Regions from separate parts of the Homo sapiens genome. Here region 2 is linked to region 1. Evidence: promoter capture Hi-C in 16 types of primary human blood cells and fetal thymus (Javierre and others, 2016). All regions are on one chromosome and are shown on one strand. The core of a region is centred on a gene start or on the middle of the fragment in contact, and the rest is flanking DNA. Distances in the headings are between cores, read along the strand shown.

What was found. Contacts are between HindIII fragments. The CHiCAGO score rates a contact against its expected background, and 5 or more counts as called.
Region 2: a fragment that was not itself captured here is called in contact with the fragment with the promoter of RNF130 in region 1 in 3 of 17 cell types (neutrophils, non-activated CD4 T cells and monocytes); the score reaches 6.9 in neutrophils.

Annotation. Positions count from the first base shown.
Region 1 is chr5:180,067,636-180,073,043 of GRCh38, reverse strand. It overlaps RNF130 (ring finger protein 130), which reads left to right and starts at 1,285. Exons shown (of 9, transcript NM_018434.6): 1 at 1,285-1,588. The coding sequence starts at 1,342. RefSeq lists a silencer at 935-1,014 and an enhancer at 904-1,611. The HindIII fragment of the contact is 6,319 bases long and covers 1-3,165 here.
Region 2 is chr5:179,555,334-179,561,043 of GRCh38, reverse strand. RUFY1 (RUN and FYVE domain containing 1) reads right to left here. Exons shown (of 18, transcript NM_025158.5): 2 at 846-1,019. The region is part of intron 4 of LOC128966623 (a long non-coding RNA gene); the gene reads right to left. Among named protein-coding and RNA genes, the nearest start is that of RUFY1, 7.6 kb to the right of the region's middle. RefSeq lists an enhancer at 1,492-1,611 and a silencer at 5,229-5,405. The HindIII fragment of the contact is 2,450 bases long and covers 3,236-5,685 here.

The sequences.
Region 1 (5,408 bases), core at 36-2,535:
TAAGTTCCTGAATTCGGCTGCACTGCCCCATTCTTCCTTTTAGCTGATACTTTATAGCGATGTGTATCTTTTAAACGCCATGGAGAGAGAAAATGAGAGTCGTGTGTGTGTGCGCGCGCGCGCGTTTCGGAAGGTGGAGGGGGGGTTCCCACTGCAACCCTCTGGTCCGGGGGCCCCTGGAGTAGTTCACCTAGTCACTAGAGCAGGGGCTCCCCAACCGCCCGGCCGCGGACCTGTACCGGCCCAGGGCCTTCGAGGAACCAGTAAGCGAGCAGGAGGTGAGTGAGCATCACCGCCTGAGCTCCGCCTCCTGTCAGATCAGGGCGGCATTAGACTCTCATAGCAACGTGAACCCGGCTGTGAACTGCGCATGCTTGGGACCTAGGTTGCCCACTTCTTACGAGAATCTAACGCCTGATGATCTGAGGTGGAGCAGCCTCATCCGGAAACCACTTCAACTCCCTCAGTCCCTGGAAAAACTCTCTTCCTGGAAACCCGTCCCCCAGTGCCAAAATGGTTAGGGACGGCTACCCTAGAGGTCTTTCCCAACCACTCGTGTCCCTGCAGGTCCGGGCCAGAGACATCCCCCATCCATGATGTCAACCGCATGACGTGAATGTTAAATCTCATGACATTTAATTTTAAACATTTCTTTTAAAGTTATGGCTTTTTTTCCTTTGTAGTCTGTTCTCACACATTTCCATACGTCCTCGCAAATCTCCCGGGCTCCACGCCCTGCGGCTATCACGCCTGACAGAGAAACAACCAGCACCAGCGGCTGACCCGGCTGCCCGGGCCCTCGTGCAGGCGGGCGGGAGCGGACAGGCCCTGGCACGCATGCGCTCGGGGCGGGACTGCGCCTTAGGCCTGCGCGTTGCCGCTAGACCAGCGGGGGGGCGGGGCGGCGGCGGACACGCGCCTCAGGCGGCAGCCGCGCGAGAGGGACTTTGTGTTCCGCTGACCCTCCTCGGGGCGCTTCCTCCCGTGCCGCCCTTCCCCTCCCCCGCCGCGTCCTTGCGAGGCGCCTCCCATTCGGTGGGACCGACCCGGGGGGATGGAGGGGGCACGCTTCTACAACCCTCCTGGGACCCCGAAGAGACGCCCGCGTGCGACCTGAGACGCCGCCCTCGCCGAGGGCCCATGGGCGCGTCCCCACAGGCGGGCAGTGGACGTGAGGGCGGCGAGCGGCGGGGCCGCGGCGTCCAGGAGGGCCGCGCTCGGGCTCGGCCCCGCGCAGGCCGCGCGCGCGCGCTCCCGCCGCCGCCCGGGCCGCGCCCGCCCCGCCTCTAGGCGCCGGCCCCGGAGCCCGGTCCGCGAGCAGCGGCGGCTGCCGGAGGGACGATGAGCTGCGCGGGGCGGGCGGGCCCTGCCCGGCTCGCCGCGCTCGCCCTGCTGACCTGCAGCCTGTGGCCGGCACGGGCAGACAACGCGAGCCAGGAGTACTACACGGCGCTCATCAACGTGACGGTGCAGGAGCCCGGCCGCGGCGCCCCGCTCACGTTTCGCATCGACCGCGGGCGCTACGGGCTTGACTCCCCCAAGGCCGAGGTCCGCGGCCAGGTGCTGGCGCCGCTGCCCCTCCACGGAGGTGAGTGCCGGCCCGGGGGCGGCGGGCGGTGGTCGCTGCATCCCGCGTAGGCGGCGGGACTAGGGTTCCCGGCCCCGGCTCTGGCCCTGGCTCTCCCGCGCTGCCCGGCCGACAGCCCCAGCCAGGGTCGAGGCTTCCGTCGTGGACAGCCCGGCCTGCTCCCGTGGGAACCAGGCTCCAGGAGCGTGACTGGGTTTTTCCCTTCTTTTAAAAAAGACTTGGAACGGTCATCTTTGCGTTCAGGCAGCTCGTTTGCTGGAGGGCATTGAGCTAGGAGTTTGCAGGGACAGCGTAGACAAAGGAGGTGGTGCAAGAGCGCAAAACTACTTCATGGGGAGGACGTCTCAGCCTGTATTTTGGAAGCGGCAGGTTCCTCAAATCACGGACTTAAGGCTGCGCTAGATCTGGAAGGATGCGGCCCTTTTCTAATATAAAAACGTGCCGTTTTTCTTAAGTGGTAAATTGGGGGGGGGGTGTAAATGGAAAATGGACATCTTCCCTGTTGCTTTTGGCTCTTGTTCTTGCCCTAGTAGTTTTACTGTAATTTGACGCCTGAAAATGTCACATTATGAGGATCTGACACTAATCGGAACTACTAGCCAAGGCTTTTCAGGTCACGGGTGCCGACCAAAAGGGAAATAGGTAAAATTTTCAAGAATTGTCTTTGAAACCATTCGGCTTAATGTCATGTTTTCCTATGAACAAGGACTTTGTTTAGTTGATTATTTGGTGTAAACATGTATTTGTTTAAATTATTAGTCATGGTTTGAAAGAAACCTTTTGCACATCGTGGAATATGATTTTTTGGGTTTTGGCCCACGCTGAACTTTTGGGAGATATCTGCCATTATCCCCACCCTCATTGTCACCCTGAGAATGCTGAGAGGGGATTTTTCTTTTCTAAACTGCTGTTCATGTTAGGATGACCTAAAGTAGGCAACCTAAATAAAGTCATGATTTGCTTGTACACTCTTAAGATACTAACATATTATGCCCCTCTGAGGTCTGTATTTGTATGCCAAAGTGCTAAGCTGTTTTCTTCTTTGAGACAGTCTGGCTGGGGAAAAATAATCACATAAGGCTTTTACTGTAGCCTGTCCGCAACTCAGACTAGGCTTTGAAAAGTCCGTTTTACACCAGTAATCAGGTGCTTAAGGTGCATATCTCATCTCTACTGTGTTAAAAATGGCAGTTAGGGTCCCAGCTTGGCCGTAGAAACAACTTTTGTCTTGGGTTCATTCAGTAAATATTTGCGTTCCTGCTCTGTGCCAGTCACTGTGGTTGAGATGCACAGTGTTGCCAGACTGGCAACTAACAATGGTAGCCTCTTTTCTGGTGGAGAGAACCGTGAGGGTCACGTGGAAGGGTAGAAAGAGGAAGGGGAGGCAAGCTGTTGTGGAGCAAGAGCTGGTCCTCTGCAGTGTTGTGAAATCTGTGGTTTGTCTTTGAGGCTTGGTTCCATCAGGCACCCCAAATCCATGGTCTGAACTTCAGATCCTTCCTCCACGGTGTTCGTGTGCTTCAGCTACTTGTTGCTTGCCTGTCACCCCAAACAAAAGCCCCGTCTTTGAGAAAGCTTGTTTTAGGTGTTTCTGTAGAAGGGTATTGGAAACTAACTCATGTGTATTGAGGTATGGATGAAGATTAGTCCTGTTCCCCTCTCAGTGGGGAGGCAGCATTGTAGGATTAAAGGTTCTGAGTCAGGCCTGTGCTTTACGTCCATTGTGTGACACTGTAAAAGTAACTCTGCCATTTAGCCTGTTTGCTCATCTGTAAAATGGAATGATGAAATGTACATCTCTTAAGGTTGTTGACAGGTTTAAACGGTTCCTTAATTCTGAAAAGAGGAGATTTGTTAACCTAGAGGAATCTCTCAGTTGGTGAGATTTCAGACACTGCAACAAAATGAACACATTTGGGCAGTGTGTGAAGACTGGGTGTGAAGTCAGTCCCCTTGAGTTTTAGCCTCCCTTTCCTTGATTCCCTAGGGGTCATTCTGTGTCCGTCCCACAGGGGCTTGCTCCAGGTTTTCTCGGGGTGGGGGTGAGGGTGGGGGATCCTACAGGTGGTTTAAGTCTGGCTTTGTACCAAGGGTCTTCACACATACGCAGTTTTTCAGTCCAGCAAATATTAATTGAAATCCTGTGTGCCCAGTCTCAGTCAAGGCATTGGTGAAGGAGAGGCAACAGCAGTGAACAAAACAGATTTAAAAAAATCCGTCTCTATGAAGCATAGCTTCTGCTGGGATCTTTGTAAGTTAGCCTACCTGTCAGTAGTTTCTAAACCTATGGGTTTATATGAAATCTAAATCTTCTGCTGTTGCAGTAGGAACTTAGGAATTTATTTTAGAAACAGAAATGGTGATATAAATCTGTTAAAATTATTCGTGTTAAGAAAATGATTTAAAATTGGAATACTTGGGTATTTTACATTATAATCTTGATTTAATGAGTTTAACAATTTTTTAGTTTTAGAAAAAATAGTGCATCTTTATGACCTTGATGCTCTTATAATTTTGAATTGAGGAGAATTCTTGACATGTTTATTGAGGACTTACTGCACGTTGACACTAAGCAAAGTAATGCTCAGATTACACACAAAGTTATCAGACAGGTCCTGGTGGAAAAACAGCTGTGGCCAATACGTGAAATTCATGAAAATTTGTTTTGAGGGTGTTTGATAGAAATGAACATAAAGACAAAAGAACTTTATAGTTTTCCTAGAGTTGAACCTGATGGCTCATTTTGAAGCTGTGGATTGATTTATGAAACTAGAAACCTTCCTGTTCGCTTTGCAGTGCTACTATCAGTTTGGCACGTGTGAATTTCTGAATAACATTTATTTGTCCTATCCCTTTAAAGAGCAAATAGTCAATTTTTTTCTTAGGCACTTTGGTATTTTAAAAGTATATTTTGGCAAGTGCTATACTTTACGTAGTATACTTTATGAGATATCTTATAAACAAGTGTACTTTAAAAATATGTCTTTGTCATTAAGTCGAATGCATTGGTGGGTGTAGAATCATTTGCCTGGGGCTAACACATTTTATATTTTAACTGGTAAAGAATTCGTGTTTAGAAACGGAGTTTTGAAGGAACATGTCTTGTATTTATGCACAGATCACGGTTGCTTTCTTATTACTTACTCAAATGGTGAGCTTAGAACTAGGAGCAAAATATTTAGTACCTTTGCGGAGCAGCCTAGCTAGGGTCTGCTGTGGAGCAGACATTGTAAATGTGCTTTATGTGTGTGCACACTAACTTTTTGTTTGGCCCCAGAGTGGGGGTTGGGAGAGGAGAAAGCCCTGTGTTGATGATGTGATTATGTATGCAGATGTGCTGGTGGGGAAGAGTTTAGTATCGGCCACTTCTTGCTTTGCATAGAAATTTTCAGGATTGGATGTTACAGCCTTAGAGAATAATTTTACCAAATAATAAATCTTGTTTTGCTAACTTGCTTAGGGATACAATAAAACTCAAAAAAGTGAATCTTAGGTTTTCATGTTTAAAAATGTAATCCTATTAGACGAAGCCTTTAATGGTTCCTTTAATGAATCTGAAATCGGTTTTTAGAAATTCTCATGAACAGTGGAGGAGATTGATGCGAAAACAGGATTTGGGTGAAAGGGGTCATGTAATGTTTGAATTCATAACAGCAAAGGCAGGGGCTATTGGACACAGATTTCAAAATATTCAGAGAAAAAGGATATATGATCATGGGAGCAGGGTCTCTGAACATTCAGAAAGAGCTGGAGGCTCTAAAAATCAAATTTTAACATAAATAGGCTGGCAAGAGAAAAGGGGATGTATATAATAAATTAT
Region 2 (5,710 bases), core at 3,211-5,710, 520 kb after region 1:
AGGCAGGGTTTCACCATGTTGGCCAGGGTGGTCTCCAGCTCCTGAGCTCAAGCGATCCTTCCGTCTCGGCCTCCCAAGGTGCTGGGATTACAAGGCGTGAGCCACCGCGCCTGGCCTAATAAGGCTTTTAAATATTGAATATGTGTTGAATGATATTTTGGATATACGGGTTCCATGAAATATATTATTAACACTAATTTTAAAACATTTTAGCAAATTAGGTTAACTTTTTTTTCTTAATTTTTAAAAGTTTTATCCCCACAGAAAGGCATCTCATCTAACACTTTTTTTTCTTTTTTCTTTTTTTTTTTTTTTTTTGAGACGGAGTCTTGCTCTGTTGCCCAAGCTGGAGTGCAGTGGCGCGATCTCAGCTCACTGCAACCTCCGCCTCCCGGGATCACGCCATTCTCCTGCCTCAGCCTCCCGAGTAGCTGGGACTACAGGCGCCCGCTACCACGCCCAGCTAATTTTTTGTATTTTTTTTTTTTAGTAGAGACCGGGTTTCACCGTGTTAGCCAGGATGGTCTCGATATCCTGACCTCGTGATCCGCCCGCCTTGGCCTCCCAAAGTGCTGGGATTACAGGCGTGAGCCACCGCGCCCAGCCTCATCTAACGCTTTTAAAGTAACCTGGCTACCAGAAACTTTAAAATTGCCTATATAGCTTGCATGCTATTTCTATTGGCCAGCGCTGCTCTAGGACGTCGCTTCTGAATACAGGAACCTTGCCTGTTCTGTACACTGCTGGCATTTCAGCATCTAGAAGGATGTCTGGCGCTGATGAAAAAATGCTGAGCAAACACCCAGCCCGAACTTCCACGCTCCCAAACGCCCCCTCAGGCTCACCTTTCAGCCCATGTTTGAGGCAGTGCTCCATCACTACAAAGAACTGCTGCAAGGGGGCATGGTCCGCATCCAGGCTGCGGCCCAGGCTCAGAGCCGACTGGAGCAACACCTTGATGCTGAGTTTCATCATGTGCATCAGGTTGGCACGCTCCTCCATCATCTGGCACTTAGAAGCTGTGGGGCAGGAGCAGGGATAGCTTCGTTAGTGGACTGAGCGTGGGGAGGTCAGACTCCGGGCAACGGTGAGAAGACGGGTCAGGCAGGAGGCCAGGCGGTCTGCTTAGGGAACGGACGTGCTGGCGGGCGGGCAACCGGGATTCGCAGGTAAGTAGTCCCTGATCCCTAGAGGCCACAGCCCCCTACCTGGACGGCGGGGCCTTGGGTCAGAAGAGCCACTGGGCCTCCTGCTCCAGAGGCCTCTCCCAGACGGCTCCGCGCGTTGCTACGGCGACGGCTTTAGCAAGACTCGCCGCGTTTGGCTTCTCCCGCAACCCCGGTTCCATTTTTGACCAATGGAAGGGCGCTACCTACAGGAAGCCCTGCCCCAAGCTCTTAGAGGGCGTGCTGGGAAAGCGTCCCGCCCCCAAACATTCCTATTGGGCGAGTCCAGCTCAAGGCCTCTCCTACGGAGCTGGTGGGCGCCATTTTGCACCCTCTGTCCCGGACGGAGGAGGATGCGCACCCCGCCCAGAAGGCTTTTCCAGCCTTCTCTCTTGCCGGATAGTGCCAGCCGGGTGCCTGCAGGGAAGCATCTTCCCCTCAGCTCCAGGCTCAAATTCTTGTTGCCGATCTTTCGTCCGCTACTAGTGGACAATTTTAGGTTTTACGCACACTTTGTTTTTTGGTAAGGAAAACCGTTGGAGTCAAATGAATTCAGAGAGTTCCATTTCAACTCCCATTATCTTGTCGCATTGCCTTGAGGGTGTAATAAAGACTGTGTGCAATTATCATCAGATATCTATACGTGCTGGCCAAATGCTCTCTGAAACCCAGTAAGCTGGTATCCTAGAAACTAAAAGTTTAGATCCCAAAGTAAGAGTCCTGGCAGGAAAGTCCCAGGTGCGAAGCGCGGCCCTCACCCGGGCGCGCGCGCGCGTTTACATTGTCTTGGAAATATTTGCCAATTGGAATGGGGGCGGGGGATCGTATTGTTTTTGGTTTGCAGCTGTCCAATTACTACTGAGGTTAAATAACTTCTGTTTATTCTCTGCTAGTATTTCTTCTGTGAATTGCTTGCTCAATTGACTTTCGTGTTGAATTGCTTGCCTTTGTCTTACTGACCTGTATATTTTGGATACTAATCCTTTACCTGTTTTATTTCACCAGCATTGATTAATATGGACAATTAAAGAGCATATTTATACGTACTATATTTTTATATAGTTAATTACAGTTAAATCTGAACGATAATATTATGGCCGTGAACTTGTAGTAAAGGTCTTAAATAAATACTGAGACATCCTGGGACTAAAAATTCAAAATTATCTCAGCAAAACCCAAGAAGGTAGGGGGAGAGCTGCTGGGCAAGAAGAAACAGCCTAAGCATTTCACCTTGGTTGTGGAGAGGGTTAAAAGTGGCTTAAGTAAAGCATTTCGTTGGGGGTGGTATAATTTTTTTTTTTTTTTGAGATGTTGTTTCACTCTTGTTGCCCAAGCTGGAGTGCAATGGCGCCATCTCGGCTCACTGCAACCTTCGCCTCCTGAGCTCAAGCAATTCTCTTGTTTCAGACTCCCGAGTAGCTGGGATTACAGGCATGCGCCACCACGCCTGGCTAATTTTGTATTTTTAGTAGAGACGGGGTTTCTCCATTTTGGTCAGGCTGGTCTCGAACTTCCAACCTCAGGTGATCCGCCCGCCTTGGCATCCCAAAGTGCTAGGATTACAGGCGTGAGCCACCATGTCTGGCCAGTATAATTATTTTTATATTTCGAGAGAAGCCTATGTATTATATTTATAAATTTTAAAACTGTAATGGATGATTGGCAAAGGAAATAAAACTTGTAAAACTTCATCAAGAGAAGGGAGAAACTCTGAAGACAGCAATAACCATAAAAGCAATTTGTAAAGATTTATCTTTAAAGAAGACACCAAGCCCAGTTCTATCATCTAGTGGTCTTGAAATTGGAATACATATACAGCAGTCTTGCCAAAGCTAGGTATGCCCAGATGTTTTAAGGAACTCAATTTCCAGATTTTCAAGTTTCACAGGCACTCTTTCTCCTCCCTCTAAAGAAGGGCAACTCACTCCATAACCTGTCTTCCTCTTGATACGGTGACCTGGGGTGCCCTAGGTTCCATACACCAAATGGAGGTGGTGTCGCCCTTGATGATTAAGTAATCAAAAACATGAAGACCAGCCTTTTACTGCTTTATGGTATTCAGTTAAGCTTGGTCTTGGGGCAGAGGGGTGGTCTCTAACCCTCTGCTTGGGTGTCCTAAATTTAGAAAATTAAATTTTTCTCCCTACAAATCTATGTAATTATGTTCAACCAGTCAATATTCACAACCCTAAGATGTGCCATTAGCTTGATGGCCATTTTCCGTAAATTAAATGAGCCCAAACTGCAGCTAAGTATTTGATGAAAATGGATTTGAAATACATGATAAACTAAAAGTATTTTTGTCAAAAAGTACTGTATTGGCAAAGGTGAATGAAATAAGCAATACTCAGATGTCTCCAACCATTCTGAGTATTCTGGGTTAAACAAAGTGCCTAAGTGAAAGAATAAGAAGTGAAATTATCCCTTGATAAGTCTTTTTTTCTTTTGAGATGGAGTTTTGCTCTTGTTGTCCAGGCTGGAGTGCAATGGCACGATCTTGGCTCACTGCAACCTCCGCCTCCTGGGTTCAAGAGATTCTCCTGCCTCAGCCTCCCCAGTAGCTGGGATTACAGGTGCCCGCCACCATGCCCAGGTAATTTTTTGTATTTTTAGTAGAGACGGGGTTTTACTATGTTGGCCAGGCTGGTCTCGAACTCCTGACCTCAGGCCATCCACCTGCCTCAGCCTCTCAAAGTGCTGGGATTACAGGCATGAGCCACCGTGCCTGGCTCACACTTGATAAGTCTTGGTAAAACTTTTGTTTTGGTAACTCCCAACAGTTGAGAAATTTTCTTAATATGATTAGGTTGCAGGTCAGGTAATTTTCAATTATTTGCTTTGAATGAAAATAAGGGAACAAAAAATAATTTTTGGCTTTAGATCAGTGTGATTTGGGGCATATAACTTGGAAAGAGTTCAAAGATGACCAACATTACTAAAACAAACAAACAAAAAACAGGACTAAAACTGATGCTGAATTCTATCACGCTTTAGCAGTAAATCATATATATTCATCTACAGATATATGCTAATGACAAAAACCAACACCATTCATCTCATTTAGAGATGCAATTCATTGGCTGGGCGTGGTGGCTCACGCCTGTAATCCCAGCACTTTGGGAGGCTGAGGCAGGCAGATCACCTGAGGTCAGGAGTTCGAGATCAGCCTGGCCAACATGGTAAAACCCGTCTCTACTAAAAATACAAAACTTAGCTGGGCGTGCTGGCGTGCACCTGTAGTCCCAGCTACTGGGGAGGCTGAGGTGGGAGGATCACTTGAACTCGGGAGGCGGAGGTTGCAGTGAGCCGAGATTGCGCCACTGCATTCCAGGCTGGGCAACAGAGTGAGACCCTTCTCAAAAAAAAAAAACGCAATTCAAGAAAAATTTATGTATAATTCTTTATAAAAATTATATTTATGTTCCTGTTACCAATGTAGCATTACTAATAAACTTAATGATAATTCACTCCAGAAGAAAAATTTTTATACACTTAGAGCTTCAGTCACAATAAAAATTTATTAAACTTTAACTTATTTACATACTTTTTGCTGAGACTTATAAGATGACCAATAACACTTTTAAAAACATACAAATCTATTACATTAATTCTATGGCAGAAGTGGAATGGAAATCCAAGTTCAATGAATAAAAGGGAAAATGTAAAATTTTCAAATATTAAATAACTTGCTATTTTAAAGATGGATGGTGGTAATTATCAATTCATTAAGGTATTTACATACCACTTGATACATTTCAAAAAACAATGTAACAGTTTTATTTTAAAAAGTCAATATTTACACTATGCCAGAAAATGAATTCTGAGCAACTTTAAAATATGATGAATAATCTTATACGTTAACTTTAAAAGTTAAGTTTTCGGCTGGGAGCAGTGTCTCATGCCTGTAATCCCAGCACTTTGGGAGGCCGAGGTGGGCAGATCACTTGAGGTGAGCAGGTCACTTGAGGTCAGGAGTTTGAGACCAGCCTGGCCAACATGGTGAAACCCTGTCTCTACTAAAAATCCAAAAAATTGAGAAACACCCAAGAATGATCAATTAAAAAAAAAAAAAAATCCAAAAAATTACCTGGGCGTGGTGGTGCATGCTTGTAATCCCAGCTGCTTGGGAGGCTGAGGCAGGAGAATCGCTTGAACCTGGGAGGCGGAGGTTGCCGTGACCCGAGATCACGCCATTGCACTCCAGCCTGGGTGACGAGCAAAACGCCGGCTCAAAAAAAAAAAAAAAAAAAAAAAAAGTTGGGAGTTTTCTTAGGGGGTTACATGAGCAAAAAATGTTAAGACCAGTGTTCCAGGCAATCAGCGCTGGGTGGTGCTGTCTCTGGAAGTGCTGCTGGCAGTGTTTTGCCATCTCATGCATCCCCTACTATGGGGTTACCTGTACCCATTAGCACTCAAGTTAGAGGCATGGAAAATTAAACCTGGAACGATCTTTTAGCGGTTCTATCTCTCAATTTTACTGGCTTTGTGACCTTGGCCAAACTATTCACATCTCTAAGCTTCATTAATAATAGTTCAACATGACA